Regions from separate parts of the Homo sapiens genome. Here regions 2 and 3 are each linked to region 1. The links are contacts of gene promoters, found by promoter capture Hi-C in human tissues and cell types (Jung and others, 2019). All regions are on one chromosome and are shown on one strand. Each heading gives the region's core, a stretch centred on a gene start or on the middle of the fragment in contact. The rest is flanking DNA. Distances are from core to core; before and after follow the strand shown. Region 1 holds the start of SNX6 (sorting nexin 6). Region 2 holds the start of PSMA6 (proteasome 20S subunit alpha 6). Region 3 overlaps PRORP (protein only RNase P catalytic subunit).

Region 1 (2,979 bases), core at 291-2,790:
AACAAAGGGAGATACTGTCTCATAAAACCAAATAAATAAATAAAAGTTTTATAAAAGTCATCAGTTCATACTAACTACCTCATCTGTTATTACAAACAGCAATAACATCCCACAATATTTTATCACCTACCAAATATGCACTAACAGATGTCTCTCTCACATTAAAACGGATAAGAAAAAGCAAAAGGGAAAACTGAAGTGCAGGCTGTGAAATGTGAAGGAACCATGGAACCTTGCTGAATGGTAATTATCATATATCAACATTTTCCAAGTGCTCACTTGTACAAGGGACTATAAAGATTACCACCCTTCAGCCAAGGAAAAAGGGGGTGGAGAGTGGGGTGGGAGGGAGGAATCAGAGCCCGGAAGGCTCTTTCTGAAGTAGAATGCAACTAACCTCAGAACACCAAGGGCAGAATGGAGGTTATCAAAGGCCTGGCGGAGTGTGTATGTGGGGGGTGAGTGGGTGGAGCGTCGATGTTGGTCAAAGGGTACATACTTGAAATTTGCTTAGATCTCAAATGTTCTCACACAAAAAAAAATGGTAACTAGGTGAGGTGATGGATATGTCAGGTTGATTTTGGTACTCATTTCACAATGTATTCGTGTATTAAAATATAATGTATACCTTAAGTATATACAATTATCAACAGTATTTGTCAATATACCTCAAAGAAGCTAAGGGGGAATAAAACACCAAGGAAATCCTGCCAAAGACAGGATTTGTTGGATATTAGAAAAAGTAAAGATACCATGGGCTACCTGCACTTTGCATAATCTAGTAGGGCACTGGACAGGAGTTGATTCGGCTACTATAAAAATCCTTGCAAAATGGTAATGTAGACTACACCTGTACTATTTGAGAGAGACAGAAGGGTGGGCGGGAGCAAGTTCGAGATGTCCACACCGGGTGAAAATTGAGGGTGCCGCTGGGAAGGTCCGAGAATGGGTTTTCATGGCCCCAAAGTGTCGAGGGAGGGTGGGGGCGTTCCATCTCCCGCCTCCATTTCCACTTCGCCACCTGCACCCCGCCCCGCGTGGGAGTGGAGGTCCACCAGAAGGCCCGAACAGCGGCGGGGGACAAGAAAGCGGCCGCGGGTCCCCGGGAATCGGAGCCGAGCGGCCCCTAGGGAGGAAGGGCTGCGGGAGGGTGGGGCGCGGTGCAGCGAGGAAACCGAAAGGAGGACTACGGGGAGGGAGTGCCGCGCGGCTGGGGACCCATCCCCGTACCACACCCGGGGACCCAGGATGGGGAAGGAGGGTCCAGGGTCCCGCGAGCGAAAGGAAGGCAGAACTTACTCCGCGGTCCTCTTCTGAGAGGAAGTCCGGGCCGTCGTCCAGGCCTTCCTGTGGGGTCGGCGGGCACGGCGCGCCGGGGAAAAGGATGAGATGGGGGAGACACAAAGGGAGACATTAGTGACAGGCTGGCGCGGTCCCCGCGCCCGCCCCGCGCCCGCTGCCCCCACCGCGCTCCCGGGACTCGGCGCCGCGGAGAACACCCACCATCATGGCTGCTCCGAGGCGAGGGCCGGCGCAGGCGCGCATCTCCCTGCTGCCGGAGGGAGCCGGCGGCCAGGAGCGGGGCGGGGCGGGGCGGAGGCGAAGGGGCGGGGCCTAAGGACGGCCCGCCCCGTCCCCGGCGCTGGTCGCTCGAGTCCGTGAGCGAGGAAGGTTAACAGGGCCTTCTGCCCAAGGTCAAGGCACCGAAGTCGGGAGAGCCTGAAGACCCAGACCTCATGGCTGGGGGCACCTCGCAGCTGGCGGGCTCTGACCAGGGAAGGGCCAAAGGCCACCCAGGGAGCTCTCCAGTTCCCCTGCCCCGAGGGCTCCAGCGAAAAACGATGCAGGCGCCCTCCGGAAGCCATAATACATCATCTGGTCTTTGTATTATGCCACACGATAATTAATCACAATTAATATCATTTTGCCTATGGAAGTTGCTGGAAACAAGGACCTTCACACAGTCGGTAATCAGGGACTATAATCAAGCTTTTACCGCTGGCGAGGTAATAACTACCTCAGAGTTTGGGGCACTAATGGTTGCGAACTATAAAAATGAGCTGTTTTCATTACAAAAATATTCCTTTCCTTTGTTAGAAGAAATTTCCCCACACCTACTCTAACTGTCCAGGTGGTTAGCATCACACGGGATCCACAGGCATTTCAAATAACGGGAGAAAATCATACTTAATCCTAGAATCTACACGTTCCTGAGCTTGCATTCAGTTAAGGAAAGGCATCTTCAGATGTTCAGACCAGAAACCCTTAACCCATTGAAATCCGTACTCTAGGGGCCGGGCGCTGTGGCTCACGTCTCTAATTCCAGCACTTTGGGAGGCCAAGGCGGGCGGATCACCTGAGGTCAGGAGTTTGAGACCATCCTGGCTAACATGGTGAAACCCCGTCTCTACTAAAAATACAAAAATTAGCCGGGCGTGGTGGCGCGTGCCTGTAATCTCAGCTACTTGGGAGGCTGAAGCAAAAGAATCGCTTGAACCTGGAAGGCAGAGGTTGCAGTGAGCCGAGATTGCACCACTGCACTCCAGCCTGGGCAACAGAGCAAGACTCTGTCTCAAAAAAAGAAAGAAATAAATCCTTATCTCCCTTACTCCTCATATCCAACCAAATCCTATGGCTTCTACAATTGATTGTCCTTCATACCTCTTTTTTTTTTTTTTTTGAGACAGAGTCTCGCTCTGTCGCCCAGGCTGGAGTGCAGTGGTGCGATCTCGGCTCACTGTAAGCTCCACCTCCAGGGTTCACGCCATTCTCCTGCCTCAGCCTCCCGAGTAGCTGGGACTACAGGTGTGTGCCACCACACCCGGCTAATTTTTTTGTATTTTTAGTAGGACAGGATTTCACCATGTTAGCCAGGAAGGTCTTGATCTCCTGACCTCATGATCCGCCCGCCTCGACCTCCCAAAGTGCTGGGATTACAGGTGTGAGCCACTGCGCCCAGCCCATACCTCTTTAATTAGT
Region 2 (2,979 bases), core at 251-2,750, 660 kb after region 1:
TAATCCATGCAACACTAGCTGCTCTAAGCCCCATCCCCTCAGCTCTAGTTCATTATTAATCAAGGGTGCTTAACCTCATTCCCCATTACTCGTATTTCAACCTCAGTTCCACATTTTTTTTTTTTTATTTAGATAGATCTTCCTCTGTCGCCCAGGCTGGAGTGCAGTGGCGTGATCATAGCTCACTGCAACCTGGATCTCCTGGGCTCAAGCCATCCTCCCACCTTAGCCCCCCGAGTAGCTGGGACTACTGGCGCGCGCCACCACGCACAGCTAATTTTATTTTTTGTAGAGACGGGGCCTTCCTATGTTGGCCAGGCTGGAGTTAGGCTTTCTTTCTTTTTTTTTTTTTTTGAGACGGAGTCTCGCTCTGTCGCCCAGGCTGGAGTGCAGTGGCATGATCTCGGCTCACTGCAAGCTCCGCCTCTCCGGTTCACGCCGTTCTCCTGCCTCAGCCTCCCAAGTATATGGGACTACAGGCGCCCGCCACCACGCCTGGCTAATTTTTTTTGTATTTTTTAGTAGAGACGGGGTTTCACCGTGTTAGCCAGGATGGTCTCAATCTCCTGACCTCGTGATCCGCCCGCCTTGGTCTCCCAAAGTGCTGGGATTACAGGCGTGAGCCACCGCGCCCGGCCTCCGCTTTCAAGACTAAAAATTGCCTGGGCACTGTGGCTCAAGCCTGTAATCCCAGCACTCTGGGAGGCCGAGGAAGGTGGATCACTTGGGCTCAGGAGTTCGAGAGCTGCCTGACCAACATGGCGAAACCCCGCCTCTACTAAAAATACAAAATTAGCCGGTCCTGGTGGCACACGCCTATAATCCCAGCTACTCGGGAGGATGAGGCAGGAGAATCGCTTGAACTCAGGAGGGGGAGGTTGCAGTCAGCCGAGATCGCGCCATTGCACTCCAGCCTGGGCAACAAGGGCGAAACTCTGTCTCAAAAAAAAAAAAAAAAAAAAAAAAGACTAAAAATTGTCGGGGCTGCTGGCCAAAAGAAGATCTTGCCTGGCTGTCAGAAAATAATGTTCTTTCCAGCGGCTGCTTGAACCCGCTTCCTTCAGTGCCTAAATTTAACGGCTGCAGCTGCAGCTGCAACCTGTTTCCCCCGTAATAGGAATGAAAGTGGAGGATAAAAGAGGTTAGGAAGAAGGCAAGCCAGCAGTCTGACCAGACACAGGATGCATGTAAGAGACTTGTTAATTACACGTTCTATTTAGGTCACACTGATAGGCAAATCGCTATTCTGGGCCCCCAGGAAGCCTTTTCGTCCTTGCTATAGTCAATTCATTCTCCAGATGAAAGCCTGAAAGCGCCACGACCCAAGTTTCACGTCTATCCACTCAAGAGGCCTGCTTGGCGCAGGCGCATACCTTCAAAGGCCTCCCGCCCTCACTCCACCACCCCCTTAGGGGGCGGGGCCTCAGAGCTCAGTGCTCGAACTGGCTCCAGAGCCGTGAGTTCGGCATGCAAGAGCGGAAGAAACGCGGCTGGTACCCCGGAAGCAGTCGCTGCAACTTCCGGGAGGTGCTTGTGTGCCTGGTGCGGGAGCTACGGGGCCCAGGGATTGTGTTTAAAGTAGTGCTTCTACCAACATGTCCCGTGGTTCCAGCGCCGGTTTTGACCGCCACATTACCATTTTTTCACCCGAGGGTCGGCTCTACCAAGTAGGTGAGTGAACCAGGTTCGCCTGTGGGCCACCTGAATTGCCCTGTCATGGTACGTGCCTGGAGCGAGCAGACGCGGCCCGGGTTTAGTCTGGGGCCGAAGCTGGGCTGGAGCTGGGAAGGGAGAACGGCTGAAGCTGGATTGAGCTCTGTGGTGTTTGCACCCCCGTCTGGACGCAGGGATCGGGGGCCTGAAGGCCTGTCTCTGCAGGGCGAGCGGCCACACTGCGTAGACCCAATGGAGAGTTAAGGAAGATAGGGCTGTAATGCCTGACTCCGGCTTCGTGAGGCCCCTTCAGTTATTGTATTCTGTCCTGGCCAGGCACAAGGTCTGTTTCTAAAGGGTAATTGATTCCTTAACGTCTCAACTAAAATGCCTCCTCTCCGTTTTCCTTTGTTTGCAGCATGGACTTCTGTGGTTAATTCCACACAGGCACTCGAAGCCTGCTATATACCAGACACTGCTAGTCCTAGGAGATACAAATGTGAATGTTACACCCTCTTCTATACTGAAGCTCACAGCTTAGAGTGACAGATACGTTAAACAAACGGATAAAAAAAATTAAAAGTGCCAATTTACAAATATCTACAGAGTTCAAGACATCTTTGGGAATCTGATAGAATGAGTGACTCAATTCTAGAGCTGCTCTTGAGATTGGCATCCCCTTTTTACCCACATCTGTTTGAATGCTCCTGTAATTTAAATGCCGATTCTGAGTTGTAGATGAGGTACTGTGTACTAGTTTACTGAAGAACACCTGTAGTGGAAAGAAACTATCAGTTACTCGGAATAGTAATGTATTGCGCTGAAACGGTGTCAAGGTTTAGGTTATGATTATAAGCCAGACCCTTGATCTCTTACCATAGAGAATTTAGTGTCAGGAGGGCTTGATTTACATCTGGTCCGTGATGGTTTTATTTTTGAATGAGTTTAGTGGCTCCGTGTCTTGCACAGTAATATAATCATCTGTGCTTGGAATCATAAGGAGAGAGTTGGTCTGTAAATGAGGTTCTCTTCACCTGTAAATTTTAGAAATAGAGTTAAAGATAACTTGGAATGAAACTGCTCAGTGTATTACTGCATAGTGTATATAATGTAGCAAGAAACATCTTGTTGGATAATTCAGTAGCCCTTTTAATTTATCCCCAATTGAAAAACATGATTAAAGATAGAACAAAGAGATAACTGTATCCTCAAAGAATTTTCATTTATTGTATTAAATTCCTGAGTTTTAAATAATTTTCGTATATTAGACTACTGCTTTCAGCGTTCCATTCGTGATTTTTAATATGTGAACAGGAAAAGTCACTC
Region 3 (2,979 bases), core at 209-2,708, 590 kb after region 1:
ACTGCCTGCCAGGAATGCGACTGCAGCAGAGGAAGGCAGTCAGGAACATGGTGCATGTGGCCGAGCCCCTTAGGACTCTCTGCATGGTGGAAACATGCCCACCTCAGGGTGGGGCCTTCTGCTGCCTTCCTACTCAGATTTTCTAAGCCCATTCTGTAAAATTAATAGCAAGCTAAAGGTAGGTGAGATAGGCCTATGGAGACATTTTTTCTACAAAGGGACATGCAGCATTTATGAAAACTGTTGGCCCACATGTGACAGTGTTTAGGTCCTGAGTACTTGAAAAGTATTTGGTGGCCACTCAAAAAGCATACCTTGCCCCTTACCTGCATGATTTGGATTTGCTGTCATTCTCTAAGTGACCATGACATTTGGGGGTGCCTAATGGCACCCTACATGTTGGACACAGCTTCATGCATTGGTTAGAGATAGGCTGGTACTGAGAAATTTATAACATTGCTAGTTAATTTATACTGGCAAATTCTTGTATGCCTACTTAATATTTGCTTGTATCAAAATACACCTCTCTATTGTCTAGAGAGTAGAGGTGTCAGTTTCTGGAAACACTGCAGAAAAACTTTACTAGCTTTCCATGTGGTAGCTTCCCACATGGACTCTATTTTTTGAATTGTTTGTTTGTTTGTTTTCTGCCAGGCAGGAAATGGCTAGAAAAAAGTTTCTTAAATTTAGAAGGTCTTAAAGTCTACTTGTCTAAATTCCCTGCCGCCATCTTCTCACAACTGCTTTCTCTGTGTGTTGTCTCTTTTTGTCTCAAAAGGTCATTGGATTTAATACCCACATGGGTAGTCTAGGAGGATCTCATCTTGAGTCCTTAACTTGATTGTATTTGAAAAGATCCTTTTCCCAAATAAGGTCACATTCACAAGTTCTGGGTGTTAGGACATAAACATATATTTTTGAAGTTCACCCTTCAACCCATTATACCACCATGTCCCCTATCTCACTTTCCTTTCTACCAGATTCACTTTACAACACTCCAAACAAGGAGTTTCAGGTTTGTAGTCATGACACATTCGTCATTTTATGTCAATATATGCTGTTTATGAACAACTCTAAAGGTTAAAAATTATTCATTCTATTGAGCTAAATCTATTCTGGTATAATATTTGAGAACACATTCTAGATCTCTCCTGCACAGTTAATAGGGGTTAAGAAAGACTAGTCCCATGATTCTCAGGTTGAGGGAGAATAACACATGCACTGCCTCTCCACCATTCTGACACGGCATTATAGGAGGTGTAAGATCCTCTCTAACACCAGCCCCGCAAAACCTCAGACTTAATGAACAGTTCATGACATTGTGAGCCAGTTGTGATGGAAATGTAATGAATCCCCTCCAGGAGGGTTGGGAGCAAACAAAAAAGACTGAGGAACAGCAATTTCAGTCTTCCTCATGATAGCCATTCAGATGAAGACAACTACTATATTTTCCTGAGTCTGTTCTTTTCCAAGATCAACACCTTTAATTTTAATTATTCCCCATGACATGGCTTTTATTCTATTCATTCAGCAAATATTTATTGAGGGCCTAATATGTGCCAGGCAGTCTAGTAGGTATTAGAATGATGCAGGGATGAGTATACTAGAATCCATGTCATCTAAGATTATAATCTGGGGGAGGATGTAAACAAATAAATTGCAAGACACTGTGATAAGTATTTGGATAATGTTTAGTATAGGATCTAAGGGAGCACAAGCAGAGATTCCTAAGCCAGTGTTAAAGACCTGAAGATCAAGAAGAGACTGGGGAGGCAGGACAGATTCACATTCCAGGCAGAGGGAGCAGCCAGTACAAATGCCCACAAGTTGTAGTAGATATTAGCTGGGTTTCTGGCAGCCCAGCATCCTCATCCATCCACTTCCTGTTTTAGAGCCTTGCCTCCCATAGGGGAGAACGCAAGGTGGTTCCAGGCAATTGTGCAGGACTGGGACTAGGGTGAGGAGAGTGAGCCACTTGACTCAGCTGTAACATTTAAGGGGATACCAAAAAACTTATAATTAAGATAAAGAATATTTTAATGCATTGTTTATTAAAATCATAATTGATGCAAAAAAATCCATGATGAATAAAATATCAAAACCTTAAAGAAAGACATGATCAGTATAATTGGTTTTCCCTTTTGCCTCAAGCTCTAATATGGCTTGGTATGGCACTGCTGTTGATTCTGTCTTTCTTTAAATTTTTCTATTGTATTTCAACATGGATTTTTTTTTGGCATTAGTTTTGATTTTTTGAAATATTGTTTGTCTTGATTGGGGAGTTTGTTGGTGCTCCTTTAAATTGTGTGCCAAAAACGAGTGCCTTAGTCACCTCACCCTGGCTCCAGCCCTACAACCAGGACATAAACACAAAATCTATGCTTGGCCAGTTGTGCTGTCTCCTGGGGCTTTGACTCTGGAGCATAAATGTGGTTAGAGACATTTCACAGTGGTGGCAGCAGAAGTTAGTATCCTACTATGACCTGGCCTCCCATGGTCATGCCCCTTTTCTGAGCGGTTGTTCTGGTATTCAAGAACCATATTCTCTTCGTTTTTGAAAATCACAGTCATGTTTGTTTATCTTCAGACTTCTATTCTTCCCTTTCTCCCTTCTTTACAGATAACCAGTAGTGGTTGTATATTAATATATGCAAGCTTTCTTTTTGGTATCTGAGGACAAAATTTATCCAGGTGTAGCAAAATGAATTCATCGGAAGTAACTATTTTTTTCAGTCACTTCACTTGTCTTGTACTTCTTTTCCCATTTAATCTTTCTCCACCATTTCCACCTGAACGTAACCTTGAAGATTTATTTTTAGTTGTCATTTCTTAATATTATATTCACCTCTCCAAACACAAAAATACTTTCTGTTATCTTTAGCTTAAGAAGAATAATAGCAGTCACTGAACCTGAACACATGAACAACAGAGATTAAAGGATGCCAGATTCAGAGGTCCTCACTAAAAGTAAGCACCAGA

Evidence for each region. Contacts are between HindIII fragments. The study calls those that stand out against the background at their distance.
Region 2: the fragment with the promoter of PSMA6 here is called in contact with the fragment with the promoter of SNX6 in region 1 in 1 of the 25 tissues and cell types used here (mesendoderm cells).
Region 3: a fragment that was not itself captured here is called in contact with the fragment with the promoter of SNX6 in region 1 in 1 of the 25 tissues and cell types used here (adrenal gland).

The regions. Positions count from the first base shown.
Region 1 is chr14:34,628,608-34,631,586 of GRCh38, forward strand. It overlaps SNX6 (sorting nexin 6), which reads right to left and starts at 1,541. Exons shown (of 14, transcript NM_152233.4): 1 at 1,504-1,541; 2 at 1,300-1,347. The coding sequence starts at 1,509. RefSeq lists a silencer at 1,295-1,644 and an enhancer at 1,815-1,864. The HindIII fragment of the contact is 20,741 bases long and covers 1-2,979 here.
Region 2 is chr14:35,290,882-35,293,860 of GRCh38, forward strand. It overlaps PSMA6 (proteasome 20S subunit alpha 6), which reads left to right and starts at 1,501. Exons shown (of 7, transcript NM_002791.3): 1 at 1,501-1,671. The coding sequence starts at 1,596. All of the region lies in intron 9 of PRORP-PSMA6 (PRORP-PSMA6 readthrough), which reads left to right. RefSeq lists enhancers at 1,202-1,788, 1,505-1,584, 1,705-1,824, 1,905-1,964. The HindIII fragment of the contact is 27,585 bases long and covers 1-2,979 here.
Region 3 is chr14:35,219,235-35,222,213 of GRCh38, forward strand. The region is part of intron 5 of PRORP (protein only RNase P catalytic subunit); the gene reads left to right. The region is part of intron 5 of PRORP-PSMA6 (PRORP-PSMA6 readthrough); the gene reads left to right. It also overlaps the pseudogene MRPL57P8 and the pseudogene DPRXP3. Among named protein-coding and RNA genes, the nearest start is that of PSMA6, 72 kb to the right of the region's middle. The HindIII fragment of the contact is 6,682 bases long and covers 1-2,979 here.